Linked DNA regions of Homo sapiens: region 2 is linked to region 1. Evidence: promoter capture Hi-C in human tissues and cell types (Jung and others, 2019). All regions are on one chromosome and are shown on one strand. The core of a region is centred on a gene start or on the middle of the fragment in contact, and the rest is flanking DNA. Distances in the headings are between cores, read along the strand shown.

Region 1 (6,208 bases), core at 1,454-3,953:
GCCTGTAATCCCAGCTATTCCGGAGGCTGAAGCAAGAGAATGGCTTGAACCCAGGAGGCACAGGTTGCAGTGAGCCGATTGCGCCACTGCACTCCAGCCTGGGTGACAAGAGACTCCATATCAAAAAAAATAATAATAATTAATTAATTAAAAACAAAAAGGCACTGGTTAGTATCTTTCTTTTAATGACGGTTTCCCTAAGTCCTTTTTACATCCCTCTTCGTTCTAAAACCCATTCATTAAAAAGAACCAATCCTGGCCTAGCACAGTGCCTCATGTCTGTAATCCCAACGCTTTCGGAGGTGGAGGCAGGATTGTCTGAAGCCAAGAGTTCAAGACCAGCCTGGGCAACATGGTGAGATCCCGACTCTACACAAATAAAATAGCCTGGCATGGTGGTGCATGCCTGTAGTCCCAGCTATATGGTATGTATTATAACCAAAATAAGATTAAACTGACAGTATGTTAAGATGGGAAGTTACTAAGCCAGAAAAAATATAATCAGAAACCTTAAGTGTTCACAAATTGTCTACATTAGGATATCTCAGGATAAGATGATAAAATAAGTTTTCATACAGTATGTATAACTGATTTCTTGAAAATAAGGTTTTAGGCTACAAGGGAAAAAATTAAGTAAAATCTTGATTTTTTTTTTTTTTAAAGGAGGCTAGGTCTTGAACCCCTGGGCTCAAGCAATCCTCCTGCCTCAGCCTCCCAAAATTCTGGAATTACAGGTGCAAGCCACCATCCAGCCCATCTTGAAATTTTGAATTTGATTTAGGCCAAATTCATTTCCTTAATCTTTAGTCACATCTGACCATCAAGTCACATGTGGACAATTTCAGTCTGAAATTAACAAAACACATTAGTTATAAATCTGCTTAGATAGGGTGGTTTGTTACTTTCAAGCATTTCTCCTCTCTAAGGCTGTTTCCTTAGAGTAAAATAAGAATTGGATCAAATGATTTTCTTTTTTTTTTTTGGACAGGGTCTCACTCAGTGGCCCAGGCTGGTGTGCAGGGGCAAGATCTAGGCTCACTGCAACCTCCACCTCCAGGGTTCAAACGATTCTCGTGCCTCAGCCTCCAGAGTAGCCACCTCAGCCTCTGGCACACCACCACACCCAGTTAATTTTTTGTGTTTTTGGTAGATATGGAGTTTCACTATGTTGCCCAGGCTGGTCTAGAACTCCTGGCCTCAAGTGATCCGCCTGCCTCGGCCTTCCAAAGTGCTAGGATTACAGGTGTGAGCCACCGCGCCTGGCACTAAGTTATCTTTCAATAACTTATTAATAGTTGAAATTCCATGACTTTAAGATTCTTTGACTCAGTCCAAACACGTTCCCCATTACAGACTTCCTAATATTCATTTTTAAAGCTGTAACCTCTTAATTATAAAATAAAACACAAGTACAGAAAACTCCACAGAATACATAGTTTAATGAATTACTAAAGAGGGACACCCTTCTAATCACCACCCAAAGTCAGGAAATAGGACTTTGCCAGCCACACAAGCAGCCCCTCTGTGAGCCTGTCTCAATCACCACCCCTCCTGATCCCCAAAAGTTAACCACCCCCTGACTTTCGTAGTCATCACTTCCTTAGGTTTCTTCATGGTTTTCTCACTCGAGTGTGCTTTCCCAGAAACCACAGTTTAGTCTCTTAACCTATAGTGCTCCTAAGGAAGTCTCTCTTAATTCACAAGTTCACCTAAGAAGCATCTAAGAAGCCAGAAGGCAGAGCAAATCACATACAGGTGCAAATGAGGCATTTAAGAGTCGGGGGCAGGTCCTACATTCAAGGAACGCTGAGAGCGAACAGGTGATAAGAGCGCACAGGTGCCCACTTTCAGCACAATCATGACTCCCGCACCAGAAGCATGAGCATCACCTGGGACTTAATACAAAAGAAAAAGTTATCGGCCCTGCCCCAAATTTACGGAATCATACACTACGGCGGTAGGGCCTGGCCTTCTGTGTTACTACACGCCCTGGGGTGACTGGGATGCGCTCAAGTCTGCGAAATGCCAGCCAAATCAACCCCGAGATGTAACCGATGGCGCGCGCCACACTAAGCACTCCATAGGTGCTCCTCCTCGCCGCACTTCACAGACTCAATTATCACAGACTCAGGGGCGCTACGTAGTCACTCACCCCCCCCCCCCCCCCCCCCGCTCCCCAGGCAACTCGCGGCGGGCGAATCGGCGGCTTTCGCGGCCTCGCTACGTCCGTAGGCATCAGTCCGCGAGACCGGCTGGGAGCCTAGGAAGCGCTGCAGGGCGGTGAAGACGCGGTCCGCTCTGGGAAGTTAAGAGATGGCGTCCATAAAGCACATCTCCCAAGCCGAAACACACAAGCACTCTCTCTCCCCGCTGCACCCAGGTCCTAGAAGAGGCGTCCCGTGTGCCCTTAACTAACGCCCGGATAAAAACGGGCGGCTTTTTTAACACGAGCGCAAAGCAGGGGAGCGCAGGGGGTACGGGGTCCACTGGCAGAAGGAGAGAGGGCGGCCAGGCGCCACCACCCACCCGCCCCGGCAGGCCTGCGCGCTCTTCCGCGACCGCTTAGGCAGACACGAACTCAGACTCGTAGCTACTAAAACCGCCACTGCCACGCACCTGGTAGCTAAGTCAAGAAAAGAGTCCAGTCCACTTGGCTGCTCCCGCGGTTGCGCGCATCTCGGCCTCTGCCTCAGGACAGGTCCACAGGCCCAAGAATGGGGGAGAAAGCAGTGAAGCAAAGCGGAACGCGCGGAAGAAGCCGACCAGCCTTACGGAGGCGACGCCCCTCCAGGTTTGGATTCGTCCATACGGTTTCCACGGCAGCACACAGAACGCCGGAAGAAGCTCAGGAAGCCGACTGGCTGTGCAGTTTCCGTTCCTGTTGGCTGGGGCCCGGAAGTGAGAGACCACGAGGGCCCCTCCCTCCACCCAAAGGGCATCACGCCCTGCCTTTGGACGAGCCCACAGGCCAGAGACTGGGGCGGGAAGTGCTGGAGTAACAGTCATAGTGGTCGGCCCACCATCCCTCTATGTTTGGATTTGCTCATTCCATCTCCATGGCAGCACGCAGAACGCTGGAAAAACGCAAAGCGCTGATTGGTTAAGAGTCTCAGTTCCTATTGGCCAGAGTCCGAAGTGGGAGCCCGTGAGGGACTACTCTTCAATCTTAAGTGGGTGCTGAGGCTAGAGTGTGGAGAACTGAGACCTCGTCATTTCTTCTCTTCCCGTTCCCACTGTCCTTCTGTTTCCTTCCATTCTTTTCTTTCTGGCTTCTTCTGGGAGCTCAGGTAGACATGGTGGCATAGTCTGGATAACCAACGCCTCAGAAGCAGGGGCCCCGGGGTCCTCACCATTTAGAAAAGAGAAGGCTGTGAATTACCTTCCTTTTTGGAGATGGAGGAAACAGATGAGACACTCTGATCTCAAGTTGATTGTGTAAACTAAAAATAAAAGTTCCAAGCCCCCCTACCAACTGAGTGGATCCCTCCTCTGGGCCAAAGGCACGCCAAAGTTAACCTGAAGAACTAGCTCAGGCAATGATGGGAAGATGGGGTGGGACAGGCCTCATTATACCCTCCTCCCGTTGGAATACAGGCACAGCTGACCAGCGTTAACATTAAACAGAGACCTTAAGACTGACAAAACAGACTTTTTTGCAGCAATAAGATACCAACATGGCAGCAGGCCCCAAAAGACATTGAAGTATTTTATCCTGATATATATATACACACACATAGACAAACACACACACACATATACTCTTATGTATACATATATACTCATATACGTATATATATATATATTTTTTTTGAGACAGTCTCGCTGCATCACACAGACTAGAGGGCAGTGGCGCAATCTCGGCTCACTGCAACCTCCACCTCCTGGGTTCAAGTGATTCTCCTGCCTCAGCCTCCCAAGTAGCTGGGATTACAGGCGTGTGCCACCACACCAGCTAATTTTTGTATTTTTAGTAGAGACAGGGTTTCACTGTGTTGGCCAAGCTCATCTTGAACTCCTGACCTCAGGTGATCCACCCGCCTTGGCCTCCCAAAGTGCTGGGATTACAGGTGTGAGCCACCGTGCCTGGCCAAATATATTTATTTGACATATTTTGAAATGGCCTTGCAGAGCTATCTCTTCTGGGGGGAATCTACATTCTGTAAAGAATCCCCTTGTCTTTCCAGGTCTTTTCCCTGATGCTGGAGAGAATTAACTGAGAACCTGACACCTGTTTTAAGTCTGATAAGAAACATTTACAATCTATTCTCTCTGAAACCTGCTACATAGAGGCTTCATCTGCAGAACAAGAACCCTGGTCTCTGCAACCTCTTATCTCAACCCAGACACTGCCTTCTATTGGCTCCAGGTCTTTATATAATAACTCTTTTAACCAATTGCCAATTGTAGGGTATATGGATGTGCTTTGGTCAAGGAATAGGCCAAGGTGGACATCCGGGCCAGAGTGGCTCAGCGAGTTTAGGACACAGGCGCATATTCCACTTGTTATGTAACCCGTTTATGTAAGTTCATACTTGGATCTGAGCCACTATTGTCTGTAGAAGGTATAACTGCCCTGCTGACACTGTGCCCAGGTCTGAGTTCAGCACGACACGACCCGGTTCGTGCACTGGTGCCCAGAGTAATGCTACTAACCCCTCTAAGGGAGAGCGGTTGCCCTTAAGGTGGGCAGAGGGGAGCCGAGCCAGGAACCAGCTTGTGCCCAGAGGGAGAGTTAAGCTGCTGACCCTGACAGAGCTGGCTTTGCAGGCCAGGGTGTGCAGCTGCAGGCATGGGGGCAACAGGAGCCACAGAGCCAGAACAGACAGCCGAGATAAAGGTGGACAGTGTGAGAGAGCTAGTGTGATTAAGCTGCTGATGACACAGCCGCTGAATAAAACTACATTTCACTTGCCTACACGCCCCCAACCCTCCTTGTGTTCTTTCAGTTATTCGCCCATCCACCCACTCCCCTTGGACCTCAGCTGGGGGCTGGAACCTGACAATTGGCGTAGTCGTGGCATAACACCAATCACCTATTAAATCCACCCTATGATGTAGAAGCTCTTTCCAGCTTCGAGTTGTCCCACCTTTCCTGACCCAACCAATACCTTATGTCATGTATTGATTGATGTCTTATTTCTCCGTAAAACATGTAAAACCGAGCTGCAGCTCAGTCACCTTAGCTGTCAGGCCTCTGAGCCTAAGCTAAGCCATCATATCCCCTGTGACCTGCACGTATACATCCAGATGGCATGAAGCAACTGAAGATCCACAAAAGATGTGAAAATAGCCTTAACTGATGACATTCCACCATTGTGATTTGTTTCTGCCCCACCCTACCTGATCAATTTACTTTGTAATCTCCCCCACCCTTAAGAAGGTTCTTTGTAATTCTCCCCACCCTTGAAAATGTACTTTGTGAGATCCATCCTCTGCCCGCAAAACATTGTTCCTGACTCCACCGCCTATCCCAAAACCTATAAGAACTGACGATAATCCCACCACCCGCTGCTGACTCTCTTTTCAAACTCAGCCCACCTGCACCCAGGTGAAATAAACAGCCTTGTTGCTCACACGAAGCCTGTTTGGTGGTCTCTTCACACGGACACGTGAGACATTAGCCATATGTTCCTAGGGCCTCTTGAGACTGTGCCTCGAGCCATGGTCACTCAGATTTGGCTCAGAATAAATCTCTTTAAATATTTTACAGAGTTTAACTCTTTTTGTCAACCATCACTTACGGCTTTCAAAGCTCCACACTTGCAAGTTTCAACCACCAGATACACTGGAGCCTGTACTCCAGCCCGAGCAACAGCGCAAAATCCTGTCTGTAAAAAGGAAATTTAAAAAGAAATTTTATTTTTTGCTAACTTTACATGCATTGTTATTATTTAATGCCTCTTTGTATGAAGTAAAAAATAAATTTCTTTTCTGCAGCATTTAATGCAATGCTTTGCCTAAAGAAGGAAGTTTCTATGTGCTTGAATGAGAGATTCTTTTTTTTTGGAGACAGAGTTTAGCTCTTGTTGCGCAGGCTAGAGTGCTAACCTAGCTACACTCTAGAGACAGGGGTTTCTCCATGTTAGTCAGGCTGGTCTTGAACTCCCGACCTCAGGTGATCTGCCCGCCTCGGCCTCCCAAAGTGCTGAGATTACAGGTGTGAGCCACCGCGCCCGGCTGACAGATTCTTTATGATCATCCAGAGGTG
Region 2 (6,661 bases), core at 576-3,075, 1.4 Mb before region 1:
AAACTGTTTCTTGTAAGATCTTCAGCTTCTTCCATTAGGTAATGCATGTAATCTGCAACATTCTGACCCATGATGTGCTTCCTATGTACTTCTGCATTAGATGCCTTGCTTTCAGAATCATAAGCAGGGAATCTGTTATTGTGTACTGTGAGAGATGGAGAGGCCTCCATTCACAGCCCCCTTCAGAGCCCCCAAAACTTTATTACTAGTGGTGGTTCTGGCAAGGCCTGCCTTCAAATAGCAGGTAAAATCACCCAGCTGACCATCAATGTTTTCCACGTTGTGTTCATCTCTGGTCACCTCCACTTGGCCTTCATAAATCTTGACCATGCCAGACTTACTGAGAAGCCTGCAGGCCAGCAGCAAGCCAGTACAATATGCTGTAGCATAATGTGTCAGGCCAACCTTCACACCATATTTTGGCAGTTCATATGCTTAAGCTGTGCAGACTATCATATCCCCTCCTATACAGGCATAAGCAATCTGACAAATGATATCTCTGTTTGTCACCAAACTATCATCCTGTATTTGGGTGTGTTGTACTTATTTTTATACAGTATCACCAAGCGTTTCCAAGTATAATCTTCAGTTTTTACGCTTCTATCATTTTCTGAATTTCACTTGGTTTCTCTTAAAGCAGGCCTTGTTTTTGACAACTTTAGCAAACCCCTCCTGTAGAACAGAGACCCATGTTCACAGCTCAACATACCTACAGGCCTCAGAGGTCTGCTTTTCTAAATAAAGTTTTATTGGAACCCAGCCACACTCATTCGTTTACAAATCAGGTCTGTGGCTGCTTTTGCACTACAATGCAGAATTGAGTAGTTACCACAGAGACCATGTACCTGCATAGCCTAAGATATTTACTACCTGGCCCTTTACAGGAAAAGTTTGCCAACATCTGGTCTATGGCTTCAATTTTATTTTATCTTTCATAGGGTGAGGCAGACTTGTCCTCAGAGCCACAGGAATTTTATTTTGTGGAACAAGATCTTGGTGACTTGAATACAACTGAGGAGGCTCTTCCAGGATCCAAGCCATAGAGCAGGTGAAGGAATCTGTATTAGCTTGGGCTGCCTTATAAAATTCATCGACTGGATGGCTTAAACAACTGACATTTATTTCTCACAACTATGGAGGCCAAAAGCCCATGATCAAGGTACTGGCAAGGTAGGTTTCATCCTGTGGCCTTTTCTCTTGGCTTGTAGTGGACACCATCTTGCTGTGTCCTTCCTCACATGGCCTCTTCTTTGTGCATGCAGAGAGAGAGAGAGAGAGAGAGACAGAGAGAAAGAGAGAGAGAGAGAGAACACAAGCCAGCATGTGAGCTGTTGGTGTCTTTCCTTATAAGAACACTAATCCTATTGGATCGGGGTCCCTTCCTTGTGACCCCACCTTGCCTTAATTACTTCCTTATGGGCTCTGTCTCCAAATATAATCACATTGAGGGATTAGGACTTTAACATATGAATTTTGGGGGAACACAATTTAACTCATAATAGAACTCTAATCTTTTTCTCAGGAGACTTTCTAATTATGCTGACCTGACAGATGGAAAACTATAGCAATGGAGGTCAGAGGTTTGCTCTGTGTCTTCCTGAGAGGAAGACTTATGAGAAAGTGATGCATTGAGGAAGCGCTCCTTGGGAGATTGGTAAGGGAGTCGAGGCAGGGCGGGGGGAGAGATAGAGTGAAGTCCTGCAGGGGTAGCTTCCTCCTGATCCTTCAGGGGAGCTCTGAAGTGTGAGTTACATCTTGGAATCTGACGCACCTGCATCTGTCAATCACTGGCCTGGGGCTGCCTTGCGGGGATGTTGGCTCCCAGGCATTTCCAATCTCTGCAGGTGTGGGCAAACTAGCTCTAGCCACCTGAGGGCAGTCCTCTAACAGGAGTTGCAGGTGTAGGCAGCAGAAACAAGATCCCACAGAGGCCAGGAGAGCAACACACAGCAACTGTAAAAGGACTTAGTGGGTGTCTGGGTAGAGTGTTGACTGTGTTGCCACATCCCACAAAGAAAAGTCAATAATAAAGGGTATATCGAAGACTGTCTAGGCTTATTCCGATAAAACAAAATTTGGCACATCTGTGGGAAGGTTCTGTGTTTGAAAGTTGTCTGAAGAAGGGACTAGACCTTTTGTATTCTTGCATTCCCAAACCTGGCACACAGTAGGTGCTCAGTTAGGCTTGAAGACTTCTGGTAGAGTGGGTGACTGGATGCCTGCAGGGGGCTGGAGTGATGGATAGCACGCTGGGGTCAGGTTTTAGAGAGCTAGCCTCTGTCCTGGGCTTCTCCTCACAGCTTGGGAATCCACTCTGGTCCTGACAGTCTAGGAATGGGGGAAGTTTGGCCATTTGACTCCAGCAAAGGACTTTTCTGTGTTTGGATCTCAAAGACTTTCCTCTCAACACAGGGGAGTAGCCTTTCGGTGGAGGACAGTGGAGTGGGTGGGAACAGATGGTTTGCATGTAGCACAGGTGGAATTTTATTTCTACCTTGATTTTATACACATCTTAGAACAAATTGAATGGTGGTGGCTGATTTCATGCATTTTTATGAGTTTTGTCACATCGCCTAAACTTTTTTTTTCCTTTGGGAGAATTGACCTGAAAAATTATTAGAAATAATGAGAGTTCAGTAAGGTAGCAAGTTACAAAATAAACGTACAAAAATCAATAGCTTTCCTATTTCCAACAGTAGCCACTTAGAAAAAAATAATGGAAAAGAAAGATCTCATTCACAATAGAAACAAAAGATATTTATCACCTTGCAGCAAACTTGTAGGAGACGACACATGTACTGCACTTCCTCCCTCTGTCCCAGGCATCCTTCTCTGGTGGGAGGGAGAGAATTGTTATGGCTACAGCTTGGATTCCTGGCCCCTGCCCCTCAGACCTTTGCCATAGGAGGATTGGGGGCCAGTGTTTCCCTGGCTCCCTTGGCAGGAGGTTTCTGCCTCTTCTGAGGCATATTGAAGATATGAGCTCTGGGCAGCTACCAAGAGCCCTCTGAGCATGCTGGTAGCCCACTGTGGTTACTGCAGGTGGTTACCCTAGCTTAGAGCAGTGACTGGGTCACAGGACATTAAATGGAGCAGGAAGCTATAAAGGTGATGCTGGTTTCCTGGAGTACCCACTGACTCTGGAAAGCTTCAGGGTTGGCTGCTTCTACCAGTCTAGGGGGTCTCAATGATGATCAAGCTGGCTGTGATCAGTGTGGGTGCAGGGCACAAAAGATATTGGTGGAGGTTTTTCCTGTACCACGATGGTGTCATATCTGGGATGGGAGTAGATTTAGGAAGCAATCCATGGATATTTTATCCCAGAAACATTCTAGGGTTAAATAGGACGACCTCTCATTGAGTGGAAGTTTTACATATATTAATATTAATCAGGATGCTTTTCCTTTGAAAATGGCAGAAAGCCTAGTTTAGTCATCCAAGTCCTACAAAAAAAACCCCAAACAATACAAAGCAAACATATCCCATCCATTCCTCCTTGATGCTGTGCACACCAGTTTGGCTGCTGACTGCCAGCCCCTGCAACTCTGCCTGAGGAGTCTGCTTTGTCCGTTCTCACAGTGGGTCCAAAAATGAAGCCCTGGGAAGAGCCTGACATATGGATAGGTAGGAGAGGGAGATGAATACCCCAGCTCCTTTGCCTCTTGGATGGCGTGGCTCTGAGATGTGTCCTCCACAAGGTCTCCCAGAGTTCCCGAGAGGGACTGAGCCTAAGTTGCCTTTTACTAATTAATTAATATTTATTTATTTATTTATTTATTTATTTAGAGACAGAGTCTTGATCTGTCACCCAGGCTGGAGCACAATGGTGCTATCTCAGCTCACTGCAACCTCCACCTGCTGAGTTCAAGCAATTCCCCTGCCTCGGCCTCCCGAGTAGCTGGGATTACAGGTGCCCGCCACCACCCCCAGTTAATCTTTGTATTTTTAGAAGAGATGGGGTTTTACCATGTTGGCCAGGCTGGTCTCGAACTCCTGGCCTCAAGTAATCGTCTGCCTCAGCCTCCCAAAGTGCTGGGATTACAGGCGTGAGCCACTGCGCCTGGCCCCAAGTTGCTCTTTAGGAGTTACTTGCTCAATGATGCACCCTTTACTGGCTGCCTTCTCTTGCCCTCACTTTCTAATTACCTTACTGGTGTTTTCTAATATTACTTCTCAAATAAACTCTTTGCCTATCAATCCTTATTTCAGGATCTTTCTTTGTGGTGGAGCAGGGGCTCAACTGAGAGAGAGAGAGGGAGAAAGAGAGAGGGAGAGAGGGAGAGAGAGAGCGAGAGAGCGAGAGAGCGAGCATGAGAGCAAAAGCAAAAGTACATATAATTGGAGTCCAGGCATAGCTTTGGCTTCAGGTAGGACTGGACCCAGAGGACTCAAGCAATATCTTTAGGATGATCAGGTCTTCCCATCACTTGATTGTGCTTTCTTCTCAGGTGGACTCTGTCAACCCAGTGGATCTCAGCAGTTCCAGGCTTAAAGTCTTCAAACTAAACTACCCTAGCAGAAAGAGGAGAACTTGTTTTTGTCCTAGGATATCTTAAAATTGCAAACCACTGGACTGACTTGCACGCCTCTAAGCCCATCATCGAGGCCAGGTGGATGGAATACTTTGTGTACTAGTAGTCAGGTTTTTCTAGAGGGACAAAACTATTTTATATATATATATGAGTTTATTAAGTACTAACTCACACGATCACGAGGTCCCACAATAGGCCATGTGCAAGCTGAAGAGCAAGGAGAGCCAGGTCGAGTCCCAGAACTGAAGAACTTGGAGTCTGATGTTCAAGGGCAGGAAGCATCCAGCAAGGGAAAAAGATGTAGGCTGGGAGGCTAGCCCAGTCTTGCCTTTTCACGTTTTTCTGCCTGCTTTATATTCTAGCTGTGCTGGCAGCTGATTAGATGGTGCCCACCCAGATTAAGGGTGGGTCTGCCTTTCCCAGCCCACTGACTCGAATGTTAATCTCCTTTGGCAACACCTGCACAGATACACCCAGGATCAATACTTTACATACTTCAGTCCGATCAAGTTGACACTCAGTATTAACCATCACACTCTGATTGGCCAGTCCTGATTCATGTGACTATGGATCCCTTTTATGTCCTCCTCTGTACACTCCCATTCCACTTTTCCCACACACTCTAGTGGTATACAATGGAGAGAAATCAGAAGCAGGGATGAAGGTCCTGTGTTTTGGAAGTAGATAAAGACAGACACACGTCTGCATGCATGTGCTGATGTCTAATTGTGTAGAATCTGATCACTTGCTAACTATCAAACAATATTGGTGAAATATTCAAAGAATCTGTGTGTAAGCTAGACCACTCTTTTTTTTCAATGTTATGAGAGAAATAGAAAACAAATATCCCAGCTGAAGTCCTGCATCTTACTTCTTTTCATATGAGTGATTTCTGTAGAAGAGACCAATCTTTGGCAAGAAAAACAGAAGGTGAGAGAAAAACTAGTATCTAGAGAGTTCCTAGCTGTATGTCAGTCATTGTCTTAGCACTGTATGGTTGTGACTTCATTTGACATGAAATCTATAGTGCTCATTTTATAGGTGGCCACACTGAAGCTGGATGATGTTAAGTCAGGTGCTGAAGAAGGCTCAGAGCCTGGACTGTTTGACCCCTCAGCCATGGTATTTTCACTATTCGAGATGTCTTCTCTCAGAGAACGGTACTGGGAGAGGGAAGTCTGCTCTGCTCATTCTGTGAATGAAATAAACCCTCTTCCCGCTAGTCTAAGTACTATGATGTTAGAAAGGAGGCATTTTAAACAAATGGAGCTTCCAGTCATACATGGTGTAAGAATTAGAAGCACTCCATCAGCACTTGTGAAATCACAAAGAGCTTAATTAAAAAAAAAGTAATTTGCTCATATCCCGGCTGGAGAAGCCTGTCTATGTAGTCCACAAAGCAAACAAAAGAAAAAAAATACAGATTACCTCCCTGAAGGCAGGACTTTGCTTGAAAGTGTTATGATTTTGTCCCCTGAGCCTAGTACAGTGCCTGACACATTATGAGTGCTCAGTATATATTTGGTGAGTGAATAAAAAAATTGCATACACATTAATAGTTTTTTTAAAACAATACTACTTTCTAAATATCTTTCCATGACAATGAATAAATCATTTCATGATGGTTGGAATGGTTAAATTTATTTAACATTTTATTGGATTAACTATTTTTGCTTGTTTGACATATTTAACTATTAAATTCCCTCTTTTTGGATTGGTAGGCAGTTCATATTTTTGAGGATAGTAAACAATGCTATGAATGAACATCGTTACACTTAAGCTTTTACAAATTTTTCAAATAATTTATCTAGGGTATATACAGAAAAGAACTGCTTAGTTAAATGGCATGCATGTTTTAAGCCTTGTTTTGGAAATACACAGGCAAATACATATCCATGTATAATAAGGAAAAATGTGATTTATTTTGAAAATTAAATTATCACAGTCTTCAGCTAAACCTAACAGTCATATCTTAGCACATTTAGCAGTCTAAAGTGAATTAGTTAATTTTTATGGCTTATTGTTTGAGGTAAGTGGGCCACTAGATAAGATTTGAAAACTGTTGCTTGCTTTTTATTTCCACCATACTGTTCTGTGAGTCTTTGGGAAATCTCTGGAGAGTCTGAGTA

The links. The method cuts DNA at HindIII sites, captures the fragments that hold promoters and counts their contacts. A contact is called where the count stands out against the background at its distance.
Region 2: a contact is called between a fragment that was not itself captured here and the fragment with the promoter of ULK4 in region 1, in 1 of the 25 tissues and cell types used here (dorsolateral prefrontal cortex).

Annotation. Positions count from the first base shown.
Region 1 is chr3:41,959,400-41,965,607 of GRCh38, forward strand. It overlaps ULK4 (unc-51 like kinase 4), which reads right to left and starts at 2,704. Exons shown (of 37, transcript NM_017886.4): 1 at 2,617-2,704. RefSeq lists enhancers at 2,674-2,833, 2,984-3,033. The HindIII fragment of the contact is 18,707 bases long and covers 1-6,208 here.
Region 2 is chr3:40,586,760-40,593,420 of GRCh38, forward strand. It overlaps the pseudogene RPL5P10. Among named protein-coding and RNA genes, the nearest start is that of ZNF621, 65 kb to the left of the region's middle. The HindIII fragment of the contact is 5,809 bases long and covers 1-4,730 here.